2 separate regions of the Homo sapiens genome follow, and region 1 is linked to region 2. Evidence: promoter capture Hi-C in 16 types of primary human blood cells and fetal thymus (Javierre and others, 2016). All regions are on one chromosome and are shown on one strand. Each heading gives the region's core, a stretch centred on a gene start or on the middle of the fragment in contact. The rest is flanking DNA. Distances are from core to core; before and after follow the strand shown. Region 1 holds the start of OR4D11 (olfactory receptor family 4 subfamily D member 11). Region 2 holds the start of DTX4 (deltex E3 ubiquitin ligase 4).

Region 1 (7,166 bases), core at 3,696-6,195, 330 kb before region 2:
GGATTACAGGTGCCCACCACGATGCCCGGCTACTTTTTGTGTCTGTGTTTTTAGTAGAGATGGGGTTTCACTATGTTGGGCAGGCTGGTCTTGAACTCCTGACCTCAGGTGATCTGCCCTCCTCGGCCTCCCAAAGTGCTGGGATTACTGACATGAGCCACTGTGCCTGCCCAGGGCGACTCTTTAAGCCTTATGAATAACAAGCAAACCTATTGTCATGTTTTGATAATAGAAAGCATTCCCTATTTAATAAAAGGTGCTGGGAAAACTGGCTAGCCATATGTAGAAAGCTGAAACTGGATCCCTTCCTTACACCTTATACAAAAATCAATTCAAGATGGATTAAAGACTTAAACGTTAGACCTAAAACCATAAAAACCCTAGAAGAAAACCTAGGCATTACCATTCAGGACATAGGCATGGGCAAGGACTTCATGTCTAGAACACCAAAAGCAATGGCAACAAAAGCCAAAATTGACAAATGGGATCTAATTAAACTAAAGAGCTTCTGCACAGCAAAAGAAACTACCATCAGAGTGAACAGGCAACCTACAAAATGGGAGAAAATTTTCGCAACCTACTCATCTGACAAAGGGCTAATATCCAGAATCTGCAGTGAACTCAAACAAATTTACAAGAAAAAAACAAACAACCCCATCAAAAAGTGGGCAAAGGAAATGAACAGACACTTCTCAAAAGAAGACATTTATGCAGCCAAAAAACACATGAAAAAATGCTCATCATCACTGGCCATCAGAGAAATGCAAATCAAAACCACAATGAGATACCATCTCACACCAGTTAGAATGGCGATCATTAAAAAGTCAGGAAACAACAGGTGCTGGAGAGGAAGTGGAGAAATAGGAACACTTTTACACTGTTGGTGGGACTGTAAACTAGTTCAACCATTGTGGAAGTCAGTGTGGCGATTCCTCAGGGATCTAGAACTAGAAATACCATTTGACCCAGCCATCCCATTACTGGGTATAAACCCAAAGGACTATAAATCATGCTGTTATAAAGACACATGCACACGTATGTTTATTGCGGCATTATTCACAATAGCAAAGACTTGGAACCAACCCAAATGTCCAACAATGATAGACTGGATTAAGAAAATGTGGCACATATACACCATGGAATACTATGCAGCCATAAAAAATGATGAGTTCATGTCCTTTGTAGGGACATGAATGAAATTGGAAATCATCATTCTCAGTAAACTATCGCAAGAACAAAAAACGAAACACCGCATATTCTCACTCATAGGTGGGAATTGAACAATGAGATCACATGGACACAGGAAGGGGAATATCACACTCTGGGGACTGTTGTGGGGTGGGGGGGGCAGGGATAGCGTCGGGAGATATACCTAATGCTAGATGACGAGTTAGTGGGTGCAGCGCACCAGCATGGCACATGTATACATACGTAACTAACCTGCACAATGTGTACATGTACCCTAAAACTTAAAGTATATATAAAAAAGAAACCTTTCTTTCTAGTTATAAGCATTCTACATAAAATGTAAATAAAAATAAAAGATTAAATTGTAAAAAAAAAAAAGTTTACAAAAAAGCTTTCCTGGGACTTCGGTAAGAATTGCATTAAACTTATACATTTTGGGAGAATTGGGATCTTTACTATGTTGAATCATCCAGTCCATGAACACAGTATGCTTCTCCACTTGTTTAGGTCTTGATTGATTTCTTTCATCAACATTTTGTAATTTCCAGCATACACAGTCTATACATTTTTTTGTTGTTTATAACTAAGTATTTCATTTTTAGTGACTATTAATGGTGTTGTTTTTAATTTTGGTTTGCACATGTTTATTGTCGGTATACAGAAATATGATTGATCTCTGTACATTGGTCTTGTATCCTAAGACCTTGCAGAAGTCATTTATTAGTCCTAAGAGTATTTTTCTATATTTTCTTGACAATGTGGACAATTGTGTTATCTGTATGATTTCTTCCTTTTTAAACTTTTCTTTTGTTAAAAAAAAAAGAAAGCTAGACATTTTAACATGATGGATGTTTTGAACTCAATATACATTTTCATGTTTTCTACTCAACCAGTTTTTATCTAAAAATAAGGAGTATGGGTCATATAGGAAAAGGGTGTTACAGGCCAATGGGAAACAGAAGGCGTGTTAGGTAAAGCAATAAAGGTGATATTAATAATGACATTTATCTTTGGTTGCACATTTATTCTCTGCCAGGTATCATATATTTCATGTATACCATCTCATTTTGTCCTTTACAACAACCTCATGAGATGGATATTATAACGAGAATCTTTGCGTAGGTGAACTATGACCTTTGGAGAGAGAGGTGAAATAACTTGCTCAAGATCGCACAGCTGGTGGATGGCAGAGATAGGATTCATACCTGGGTCTGTATGACTCTGAAATTAGAGCTTTCATCCACCATGCTTTACTGCTCTCCCAGATAATAACACTAGCCTATACTGCCTCTTCACAAACACTAGAAGTTTGAAAAAATAGACCGGGTAGAGTTTTTTCTTCTTAAACTCTCCCATTCTCTCTTTCCAGTGAAAAGAAATGTGAATTCTCAATGGTGAGGCCAAGGCAAAACTGACCCTTGTAAGGCTGCAACTGGAAAATCGGTCCTTTGATGGTAGAGATAAATTGCTTCATGTGTGTGGTTTCTGAAGTTTTGCCTTTATCCAAACTCATCATGAGAATGTGTGGCATGTCTAGTTCTGCATTAAGATATATACCTTTAGGCCATGATGAGAAATCTTCCCAAGCCTCATCAATCTTGATAGGAATCCAGGAGGATAACCATTATGTTCCTATGAAGTTCTCAGTAGCTCATGAGCCCACTTTAGTTTAATTCAGCAGAGGCCAATTTCTCAATCTGCAATAGGCTATGCATACCCACATATATGTACTCCAGAGGCATTGATCATGAGATCCTTCTGGAACAGGATTATAGTTTGGTATAGACAGGTCCAACAATGTAATAAATTACATTCATGTGGTGGAAGAACAATGGGTTGAGCATCTGAAGATGTCTCTGTAATTAACTTAATATAAGACCTTGAACACATCACTTTATCTCTCTGGGCTTTTATTTCCTTATCTTCTGAAAAAAATGTTGGACTTAATCATCTTATCTGCCTGCCATATAGCTGTCTTGATTGACATAAGGTTACTTGGTCTTTGGAAAAGTAACAGTCAGTTCACTCCTATAACACTAGTTAGTTCATGCTGCACAGAAGCTTAGGTTATCAGTTATCTACTAACTGAAATAGGAAGACAAATTGTTCATAGTCAGTATAGTTGGTTTACTGACAATGTATCTGAGTATGTAAATGTGAATTCATGGGAAAAATAATATAAGGTGTCCTTGGTGATGAAGAGCTGAATTTGTTTTCTTTTCTTTTTTTTTTTTTTTGAGACAGAGTCTCACTGTGTTACCAGGTTGGAATGCAGTGGCGCGATCTCGGCTCACTGCAACCTCTGCCTCTTGGGTTCAAGTAATTCTCCTGCCTCAGCCTCCCGAGTAGCTGGGACCACAGGCGCCTGCCACCACGCCCAGCTAATTTTTTGTATTTTTAGTAGAGACGAGGTTTCACCGTGTTAACCAGGATGGTCTCGATCTCCTGACCTCGTGATCTGCCCGCCTCGGCCTCCCAAAAAAATTACAGGCATGAGCCACCGCGCCCGGCCTCTTTTTTTTTTTTTTTTTGAGATGGAGTCTTGCTGTGTTGCCAGGCTGGAATGCAGTGACGCAATCTTGGCTCACTGCAACCTCTGCCTCCTGGGTTCAAGTAATTCTCCTGCCTCAGCCTCCTGGTAGCTGGGACTACAGGTGCGCACCATCATGCCCAGCTAATTTTTGTATTTTTAGTAGAGACAGGGTTTCACCATGTTGGCCAGGATGGTCTCGATCTCTTGACCTCATGATCCACCCGCCTTGGCCTCCCAAAGTGCTGGGGTTACAGCTGTGAGCCACCGCGCCTGGCCTGGATTTGTTTTCTATTCCCTTTCAGAAGGCACGAGTCTTCTCTTCAGTCTTCTCATGGCTGACTTCATTTCCTGGTTCCTCAGAGTGTAGATCAAAGGGTTCAGCAGAGGGGAGATGACAGTGAAGGTGACAGAGATGGCCTTTTCTGTGGGGAGGGCAGTGAAGGGCCGGGCATAGACATAGATGCAGGGCACAAAATGCAGGGTCACCACAGTGATGTGGGAGGTGCAAGTGGAGATGGCTTTCCTCCTGCCCCCTCCTGCCTGAGACCTCAGCGTCATTAGGATGACTGTGTAGGACACAAGCAGGAAGATAAACCACAGGGTAGTGACCAGGCCATTGTTGGAAATCATCAAGAACTCAAGAGCAAAAGTGTCAGTGCAAGTGAGTTTGAGGACCTGGGGGACATCGCAGTAGAAAGTGTCAAGAACATTGGGTCCACAGAAAGGGAGAGGCAGCAACAGGGAGATCTGCACGATGGAGTGGACAAAGCCCCCCATCCAAGAGGCAGAGATGAGGGCAGTGCATTGCCCTCTACTCATGATGGTCACATAGTGCAGGGGCTTGGAGATGGCCATGTAGCAGTCAAACGCCATCACAGAGAGAGAAAAAATGTCTGCCCCACCAAGGAGGTGGAAGAGAAATATCTGTGTCATGCAGCTTGTATAGGATATGGTCTTTTTCTTTGACAGAAGGTCCAGCAAGACTTTAGGAGCAGTTGTGGAGGAGAAGCAGATGTCAAGGATGGCTAGATTGCGGAGCAGGAAGTACATGGGGGTGTGAAGGCGAGACTCACAGGTCACGGTGACCATGATGAGGAGGTTTCCCAGCAGAGTCGTCATGTACACAAGACATAAAAAAAGAAACAAGACCAAACTCTGGTCTTGGGATTGAGTAAGTCCCAGAAATATAAATTCTTTTACTCTGGTGACATTTCCCAACTCCATTGAATCATGTTTTCTCTTTCCTGAATATCTTGGAAAAAATAATGTTATTTCAGAAAGTGTTTACTCTCTCTTAACAGATTCAAGTATTAGGTCTGAAAACTTGTGAGATATTACAATTTCAAGTTTATTGCCAATGCATGTAAAATGACATCTTATTATACAATCATGCATACACTTATATAAATTACAATTTTAAAAAATGTATAAAAATAATGTTGCAGTTATTCAAGATACTTAGGACATTATTCAAGATAAACAGAGGGGGATATTAATTATTTAGAAAGAGACTATTGTGGCATGGGAAATATAAAAATGGGATTAGTTTGTTGTGAGAATAAGGCAGTGCTTACTTTGTGTGACTAGAACACCTTGAGTTTCACAGGGCTGAGGATTTTGTTGTTTTTTCCCAGACTGGATGCTCCATTTAAATGGTTCTAAGAACCCCTGTCTGCAAAGAGGCCCCCCACTGGATTGAATTGTATGGAAGCAGCACCCCTCTCTTCTTAAATCACAAACTTATTTCCATGAAAAATTAGAAAATGTTTAAGCCATAAAATTTGTTTCTATTGCTCTATTCTTCTTTAAGGGGACTGCTTTGTTTCTTTCTTTACTTTAATCTACTTTAGGTACTGAAACCCCGGGGTGGTGAATAGCTCCTTAGCAATGGAAATAAAAATATTACTCAGAGCTTCTCTTCTGTTGTTTCAATTTCTTTCTTAAAAAATAATTTTTGTTGAGCTATCATTGACATACCATAGACTGCACATATTTGAATTCACACTTCGATAATGTTTTTTTTTTTTTTTGAGACAGAGTCTTACTCTGTCGCCCAGGCTGGAGTGCAGTGGCGTGATCTCGGCTCACTGCAACCTCTGCCTCCCAGGTTCAAGTGATTCTCCCACCTCAGCCTCCTGAGTGGCTGGGATTAAAGGCGTGTGCCGCCACGCCTGGCTAATTTTTGTATTTTCAGTAAAGACAGGGTTTCACCATATTGGCCCAGCTGGTCTCGAAATCCTGACCTTGTGATCCACCCACCTCGGCCTCCCAAAGTGCTGGGATTACAGGCATGAGCCACTGCTCCCGGCTGATAAGTTTTGACATATATACCTGTGACACCATCTCTATAGTTAAGAGAGTGAATATATCTATCACCCAGAAAATGTCCTTGTGCCCCTTTGTAGCCTGTCCCCTTTACCCTTCCTTCTTCAGGCAACAACTGATCTGCTTTCTGTCATTATACATTAGTTTGTATTTTCTATAATATTCTATAAGTGAAATTCTACTATTTGTATTTTCTTCTTGTCTGCCTTCTTTCAACCATGAAATTCATCCGTTGTTTTGTGTGTACTGCTATTTTGTTCCTTTCTATTGTATGAATATACCACAGTTTGCTTATCCACTCACTTGTAGGTGAACATTTGGGTTATTTGTGGCTTCTGAATATTACTCATAAAGCTGCTATGAACATTCACATTTGGGTCTTTGTGTGGACATATGTTTTCAGTTCTCTTGGGTAAGTAGCTAGGAGTGGAATGGCTGTAACTCTTAACATTCAATAGTATGAGAACAAACAACCAATTAAGCAACAAGGACAAATTATTTTAACAAAATGAAGTCACTAAAAGAAGTTAAAAAAAAAGAAGAGAAAAAAGGACAAATTATTTGAACAGACACTTCAGCAAGAAGACACAGAGAGAGCAAATAAGCACATGAAAAGGCTCAACATCATTTATCACTGAGAAAATATAAATTGAAACCACGTTGTAATTTAAAAATAGTATACATTAGAGTCACTGGAATGAAAAAGATTGATATATCAAGAGTGGACAAAGATGTAGACCAATGGAACTCCAGTAGGAATGTAAAATGGTACAATCAATTTGAAAATATTTTGGCAGTTTTTTTTTTTTTTAGATGGAGTCTTGCTCTGTCACCCAGGCTGGAGTGCAGTGGCACAATCTTGGCTCACAGCAACCTCTGCCTCCCAGGTTCAAGCGATTCTCCCACCTCAGCCTCCTGAGTAGCTGGGATTACAGGCTCCCACCACCATGCCCAGCTAATTTTTGTATTTTTAATAGAGGCAGGGTTTCACCATGTTGGCCAGGCTGGTCTTGAAATCCTGACCTCAGGTAATCCATCCGCCTTGACCTCCCAAAGTGCTGGGATTACAGGCATGAGCCACCGCGCCTGGCTGGCAATTTTTTAAAAAACTGTTACACAT
Region 2 (7,036 bases), core at 1,136-3,635:
TGCTTTTTTTTTTTTCCAGGACTGGAATCCCCTGTCAGATGCTTTAACTGCTGGTCTCTCTCTCTCTCTCTGGTCCCACCTCCGTGGCTCAGCTCCGCCCAACACACACCCCCTCCACCCTCACCTTCTGATGCCTCCACCCTCACCTCCACAACCTTTACCCAAGTTGCGCAATGACATTCTCTCCCTCCCCCTCAGCCACACTTAATCCTCTTTCTCAATCTCCCCACATTCCTCTCTATTCTCTGCTCCTCCCAGTCTCCCTCAGCTCCACACACGGTTGAAGCCCCTCCAGATTCTAACACTTCCAGAATCCTCTCCCCAGAAAGCTCTCCTCAATCAGCCAGTGTCTGCAGAGTCCTTGGCAAAGGGGTTGCTGGGAGTTATGACTAAAGATGGGGACATGAGGGTGGAAAGATACCCCTTTCCCATGACAATCCTAATTAGCACACAGGATGTGGGGGCTTTCCAAGGAAGCAGAGAGACTCTGCTCAAACAGCTGTTCACTGGGGAGGGCCTTTCCGAGTCATCTTCTCTACGTCCTCCCCAGCACACCGGCCTCTCCAGGCTCCTCGGTTGCACTCTTGGGAAAGCCGAGCCAGAATTCCAGAAACAATGGCCCCCTCCCCACCTGTCACTGACGGAGGCAGAAACTCTTCCCGGGTCATCGATTAAGCAAGGACCGAGCAAAGAGAGGCAGTTTTGCTCTCCCTTGGGCAGCACCCCCACTCCCCACCCCCCAAGGCCCCATCCTGGAGGCTCCCTTCCTGGCTCTGACCTGGAAAGGCAGGTCAGCTGGGAAGCGGGTTTGTGCTGGCTACAGTGACAACTTGATTCTCATGAAAAGATAGGAGTTTGGCGCTCCAGGAGACCATGGGTTCCTTACAGGCTATGGTTTCAAGAGGAAGCCTGGGGACAGTTTCTCCTTAGGAATCTGCGTCCTCCTCCTCCGCAGACAAAGGGAGCGGCTTCCCTGCCATGCATTCCGAAGCCCCGAGCCTCCCCCTCCTCTCTCCATCTGCTCCGGCCTGTTGCTTCCGCGCATGTAGTGTGTAGCAGAGGCATTCGCCAATGCCGCGGCGTCCAGGGTACCCCAGCCCTAGTCTCTCCTCCCAGGGAGCCCGGCGCTTCCCTTACCCGACTGTAGCGAGAACCTCCGGGGAATCCCTTCTTCCTCCCCCAGTTCCCACACCCAGGACCCAGCTGCGGGGAGGCATCCCACACAGGAGACGCAGAGGCAGTGAGATCGGGGGTGAGGGGACGTGTGGCAAGCCCCAGCGTGCCTGAAGCAAAACAGGGTCAGGTCAGCCAAGGTGCCGGCCGCCACGGGATGAGGGCAGGAAGCCTTTGCGAAGGGCTGGGATTGCCTGTAGTCTGGGGCGGCCCTAGAATTTCTACATAGAAAGACTTAGGGCCACCAACTGCTGAAAAGCGGGGGCATGAAAGGGGTGGGGAGTGGATTGTTACCGACTAGGTTGAAGCTGGGTTTGCAAAACCACAACACTGATACTATTTGCATGGATGTTTAAGGGGGAGGGAGGATCCTGCGAGGATTCAGCGGAGTGAATCGCCTCCCACCACCACCTCTTGGTGACACTGCTGCACAGAAGTGCCGACTAGGTGGCCAAGGTGGGTTCACAGGGAGGGAGGTACCTTGGCAGGTTGGGAAGGTGGGAGCAGGCGGGGCGGGGTCAGGGGCGGCTGGCTCACCCGTGTCTTGGCGGAACTGGTTCATGGACTGCAGGTCGATGATGTAGGGCGCGAGACGGCTGTCCACCTGGCCCAGCACCACGCTGCCCCCCGCGCGGGGGCCGGCGCGGACCACCGCCTCGATGTGGTGGCTCACCGCTGGGCTGTAGGGACGCCAGCGGCCGTGCTCGTTCAGCCATTCCCAGACCACCACGGCCGAGGCCAGGAGCATGGCGAGCCCGGGGCTGCGGCGCTGCGCGGCCCGCCTCCCGGGCCCCGAGCGCCCGACCTCCTCCGCTTCCTCCTGCGCCGCCGCCTCCGGGCCTCGACCGCGCCCCCTGCCCCGCGCCCCGCCGCCCCGGGCAGCCTCAGCTCCGGCCCATGGGCTCCTCCCCAGCCGTGCATCCACCGGGGCCGGGACACCGGGGCCGCCTGGCTGGGACCGCGCGCCGCCGCCGCCGCCGGGGTCCGCTGCTGCTGCCGCTGCTCTGTGGGGTCGAGTCGCTTCATGCAAATGCCCGGCTCTCTGCAAACAGGCCCCCGCCTTGCAAAAGCCACTCGGCGGGCGCGCGGCCCGAGCCCCGGCGGCCGCGAGCTGGGGCTGACGGCGAGGCAAGGACCCAGCCCTCGCACCAGTTGCGCCTCGGCCTCTGCAGACGCCGGGGTGGGATCTCGCCGCACGGCCGCGCTCGGAATGGCACGCTCTGGTCCCCTCCCCTCTCTCCCTCCCTCCCCACCCCTTCGCCGCACGAATTGCAGTCCCCGCCGCTGGGAGAGCTCCCCCTGCCTGTGGCTCTGCTCAGTTCCTTCCAGAATGAACCACCCCTCCCAAGCAGGGCGCTAAGGCAAACCCGCGCCCGCGTGTGTTTCCCTGGTTCCTTGATGCAGAGAAGCGACCCGCCATGACACGGCCCCGGGACCACCACTGTCGCCCAGCCGCAACTTTGCAGCCTCCTTCCCCCAAATGTAATTTTCTCTCTCTCTCTCTTTTTTTTTCCTTAATGCAGCATGATCAGTGTCCGCAGCGCGAACTGGAGACACGCATTGTCTCGGGGCTTGCGCACGCACTGGCACACTCACAGTCGCACACACACGCGCGCGCACCCCAACTCCTTCCTTGCCCCGGCTCCTATTACCTCATCCTCTCCCGCATCCTTAGCTGTCCGTCAAGGAAGCAGAAGACACGCCCCCTGCTGCTCGGGCGAGTGCCCTGGAGCTTACCCGCCCCCTGCTGGCCTAAAGTGTCGTGTGCCGGCCAGTGGCCACTCCAACCTCTGCTAATGAGACCCAGTCCAAAGGGATGCAGCAATTTCGCTAATGATGGATTTATATTACCTACGTAGAGAGCAAATGTGGTTTTTCTGGCCAGATTCAACGTACTAGAGTCAGGAAGACGCATGTTAGATTAATTTTATCTGCATCGTTTCTGTAACTAAAATTATGAAACACTAGGAAAAACACGAGTTAGACTTATTTTGATCATCAATAGTTAATATGGAAAATAACCTTAAATAGGTAGGTTCTGACTAAAAGGGAAGACTGAAGTCAGGATTATGCATTATCCTTGTCAAAGAACACAAATTTTGTTTTGTTGAGATTGCAAACCACATAAAACAACGAATCGAGTCTTATCAAGATCCAAGTTATAGGATGCGGGAAAGTAAAAATAGATTATGTGTTAGAGAATGGGATTGTGAATCTTTTTGAAATAATCAATTTTTTCATAAATATCATATGACCCTTTTATGTTTTAGAAGAGTTGCTTCCCCCTCCCTCTCCTTGCAGCTGTCATTTCTCCCATTGTTAGAATTTTGCATCCTTCTACCTTTATCTTTCTCCCAACAGAGTTCTAAATACAAAGCAAAAGAAAAAGTGTGAGATCTGTTCTTCTTCAGGCCCCTAAAGGCACCAGGCTCAAGGAACCTCTGAGCTTTGTTCTTTCTGGTCTTCTTGCACAGCTTGGCCTCCAAAATGCCTAGTCGGCCTCTCCCTTATTTGGGGACTGTTCCTAATCCAACCTAAACAATACCACTCATTAAAATGTCGAGTTTCAGAATTAGAAGAACAAAAAGAAAACAAGGATACCTCGACTAATTATATCATAGGCCATTATTATTACCATTTTACAAATGACAGGACTTAAGGAATTTAAACTATTTGCCCTAGATTACATAGCTAGTTAGAGGGGAAACCAGTATTCAAAATTTAGTTGGGCTGTCTCAAAAGAAAATGCCTGTTCCATAGCATGTCCTATACAACACAGAGGTGGCACAATAACAGGCAATGTAGAAGTGTCTCAGTGTGAAAGAAGGGAAGGGAGAAAATGGGGGTAGAATTTTCTGGAAAAGAAACAGAAGGCAAACTGAAGAAAAAGTAATTTAAAAATTTATTGGGCTACTTTTATTTCTAGTCATAAAAATGGAAAGTATCAAAACTCAGGAAACTTTCTTATAGTCTTGGTAAGTATGAATCAAAAAGTGAAGAGTAATGATTCAAGGGGATATTGGAAGTACCAGCGAAAATATAGCACCTGACCAGCTAAGCCAGAAATTCCAAGGTGAAAAAAATCTAAACTAGATAAGCAGGCTACCAGCAAATGTTAGATGAGCTGTTTGAAAGGCGAATGGAAGGCAGAAGGAAACTGACGCCTACCTGCCTATGTCCAGCCTAGTTTTGTATCTGGTCTTCTTGTATCTTCCATGTTAAACACAACAGAGTATTACAGCAGAATAAAAATATCTTATGACATGTGAGAAGGTTTGTATGTAGTCTGATTCATTTGCAAGAGGAAGTGAATACACACACACACATACACACATATACACACAAATGAGAGGGGTCTTTAAAATTTTATGGAAAATGCATATTATGAAAAAACTAGGCTGGTAGTTCAAATTGTTTTTTTGCACCCAAATAAACTCATACTAACTTGTTATAACATGTCTGAACAGGATCTAGTTTGAGACACTAAGAAGGGTAAGACAATGCCCTTACTGAAGAGGATCAAGGATTAGCAGTCAAAACAATAGCCTACACCATAGATATGTCAACTGGTTCAGCTTACACAATTCTGACAAAGAAATTAAACTTTCCATTCCTTGATAGGTGCCAAAACCATTGCACCCAGGTTGGCCACAGACAAGAGCAGGCCTTTCAATAGAGATTTTAAATGGGTGGGATCAGGATCATGAAACATTTCTTTGAAGAATTGTAACAGGAGATGAAACATTACCAGTATAATCCTGATGACAAGGAACAACCAAAGCAATGGCTATCAAGAGGTAGAAGTGGTCCAGTCAAAGCAAAAGTGCACTGGTCAAAAGCAGAGACCATGGCAACAATTTTTTGGAGATGCTCAAGGCATTTTACTTACTGACTTTCTGGAGGGCCAGAGAACAATAACATCTGCCTAATATGAGAGTATTTTGCAAAAATTAGCAACAGCTTTAGGATAAAATACCTGGGAAAGCTTCACCAGAGTCGTTCTCCACCATGGCAATGTTCATGCTCATTCCTCTCATCAAACAAACGCACTTTTGTGAGCAATTTGATGGAAAATCTTTTAATCTGCTGTACAGTCCTGATTTGGCTCCTCTGACTTCTTTTTGTTTCCTAATCTTAAAAAATTTTTTAAAGAGCATCTGTTTTTCTATAGTAAAGTAAAACTGCATTGATATGGTTAGGGTCCCAGGACACTCAGTTCTTTAGTGATGGACTAAATGATTCATATCATCACCTACAAAATATCTTGAACTTGATGGTGCTTATGTTGAGAAATAAAGTGTACATTTTTTATTTTGTTTTTTAATTTTATTTTTCACAAACTTTTGGAAGTCCCCTCGTGTTTGTGTGTGTATGACTTGACATTAATAGTAAATTATAGATGTAAAATATTTGTATTTTAATAATCCATGATAATTTATAGTTTATCATGACCCAATTAGAAATAATAATTTATAATTATGTATAAATAATTATTATATATGTATATACATTTCTTAGATCTTCTAACACAATCCTAATTTCAAATAATCTGTACCATAAACCCTGAAAATCTCAGAAATTCCATTTTATTTATTTATTTATTTTTTGAGACAAAATCTTGCTCTTGTCCCCTAGGCTGGAGTGCAATGGCATGATCTCGGCTCACTGCAACCTCCTCCTCCCAGGTTCAAGCGATTCTCCTGCCTCAGCCTCCCCAGTAGCTAGGATTACAGGTGCCTGTGACCAGGCCCGGCTAATTTTTGTAGTTTTAGTAGAGATGGGGTTTCACCATGTTGGCCAGGCTGGTCTCGAACTCCGGACTCAGGTGATCCGCCCGCCTTGGCCTCCCAAAGTGCTGGGATTACAGGCATGAGCCACCGTGCCTGGCCGACATTCCATTTTAGTATCCAAACTATATCTCCCAAATTGTCTCCTGTACTCATAAGTGGCATAAAAATCTTTAACCAAATGATATGCCAAATTTTTAATTTGAACATATGATGGCTATAATAAAACCTCACTAATTGAGACTATGAAGCCAGTTTTGAACTGTTCAAAGGTACAATTTGATGATACTTCAAAAAAGGTCGTCATTGTCTAACACAAAGATTCAGTGAAAAAGCCGCTTCTCTTCTTTTTCTGTGGAATGTTCATAGACAAAGCCCTTTTTTTTTTCAATTACCTATTATTATGTAATAAAGCACCCTAAAACTGGTGGCTAAAAACAGCAGCAAGCGTTTATTTTTCAAACACATCTGCACTTTGGGGAGGGCTTCCAAGGACAGCTGGTCTTTGCTACACACAGCATTAGCTCAAGGGAGCTCTCAGGAAAGCAGGTGGCTGGAATCATCTGTAGGTTTGCTCATTCATAAGTCTACTGCTTGATACTGGCTGTTATCTGGGCACTCAACTAGGGCTATCAGCCCAAGTACCTACACATGGCCTGTCCATGTGATTGATGGGCATTCTCACAACACAGAAGTTAGTTTCCAAATAAACGAGAGGCAAGAGAAAAAGCCAGGCAGAAGATGCATTGCATTTTAATTTTTTATTTTAAAATAATTTAAATTCACATGCAGTTATAAGAAACAGACAGAGCCTGTGTATCCTCAACATCCCATAAAACTATAGGAAAACTATAGTGCAATACCATTGCTGATATTGACACAGTTAAGATACAGAATGGTTACAATTCTGCTCCATTATTGATATAATACCATTGTGTCACACATTATACAATACACATTTTGTATACAATATACATTTTCCACACCACAAGGATTTCTCATGTTGCCCTAAAAGGTCACACCCACTAATTCCTCCCCACTACCATCCTGTCCATAACTCCTGGCAATAACTAATA

What was found. The method cuts DNA at HindIII sites, captures the fragments that hold promoters and counts their contacts. A CHiCAGO score of 5 or more calls a contact.
Region 1: the fragment with the promoter of OR4D11 here is called in contact with the fragment with the promoter of DTX4 in region 2 in 3 of 17 cell types (M1 macrophages, monocytes and M2 macrophages); the score reaches 8.5 in M1 macrophages.

Annotation. Positions count from the first base shown.
Region 1 is chr11:59,501,355-59,508,520 of GRCh38, reverse strand. It overlaps OR4D11 (olfactory receptor family 4 subfamily D member 11), which reads right to left and starts at 4,945. Exons shown (of 1, transcript NM_001004706.1): 1 at 4,010-4,945. The coding sequence starts at 4,945. The coding sequence ends at 4,010. The HindIII fragment of the contact is 7,711 bases long and covers 3,252-7,166 here.
Region 2 is chr11:59,167,481-59,174,516 of GRCh38, reverse strand. DTX4 (deltex E3 ubiquitin ligase 4) reads right to left here and starts at 2,385. Exons shown (of 9, transcript NM_015177.2): 1 at 1,711-2,385. The coding sequence starts at 1,921. It overlaps LOC124902601 (basic proline-rich protein-like), which reads left to right and starts at 1,072. Exons shown (of 2, transcript XM_047427951.1): 1 at 1,072-1,252; 2 at 1,787-4,442. The coding sequence starts at 1,072. The coding sequence ends at 2,595. It overlaps LOC124902675 (a long non-coding RNA gene), which reads left to right. Exons shown (of 4, transcript XR_007062682.1): 4 at 20-818. RefSeq lists enhancers at 1,319-1,428, 871-1,699, 2,327-2,621, 2,708-3,248 and silencers at 1,769-1,818, 1,879-2,448. The HindIII fragment of the contact is 13,201 bases long and covers 1-5,160 here.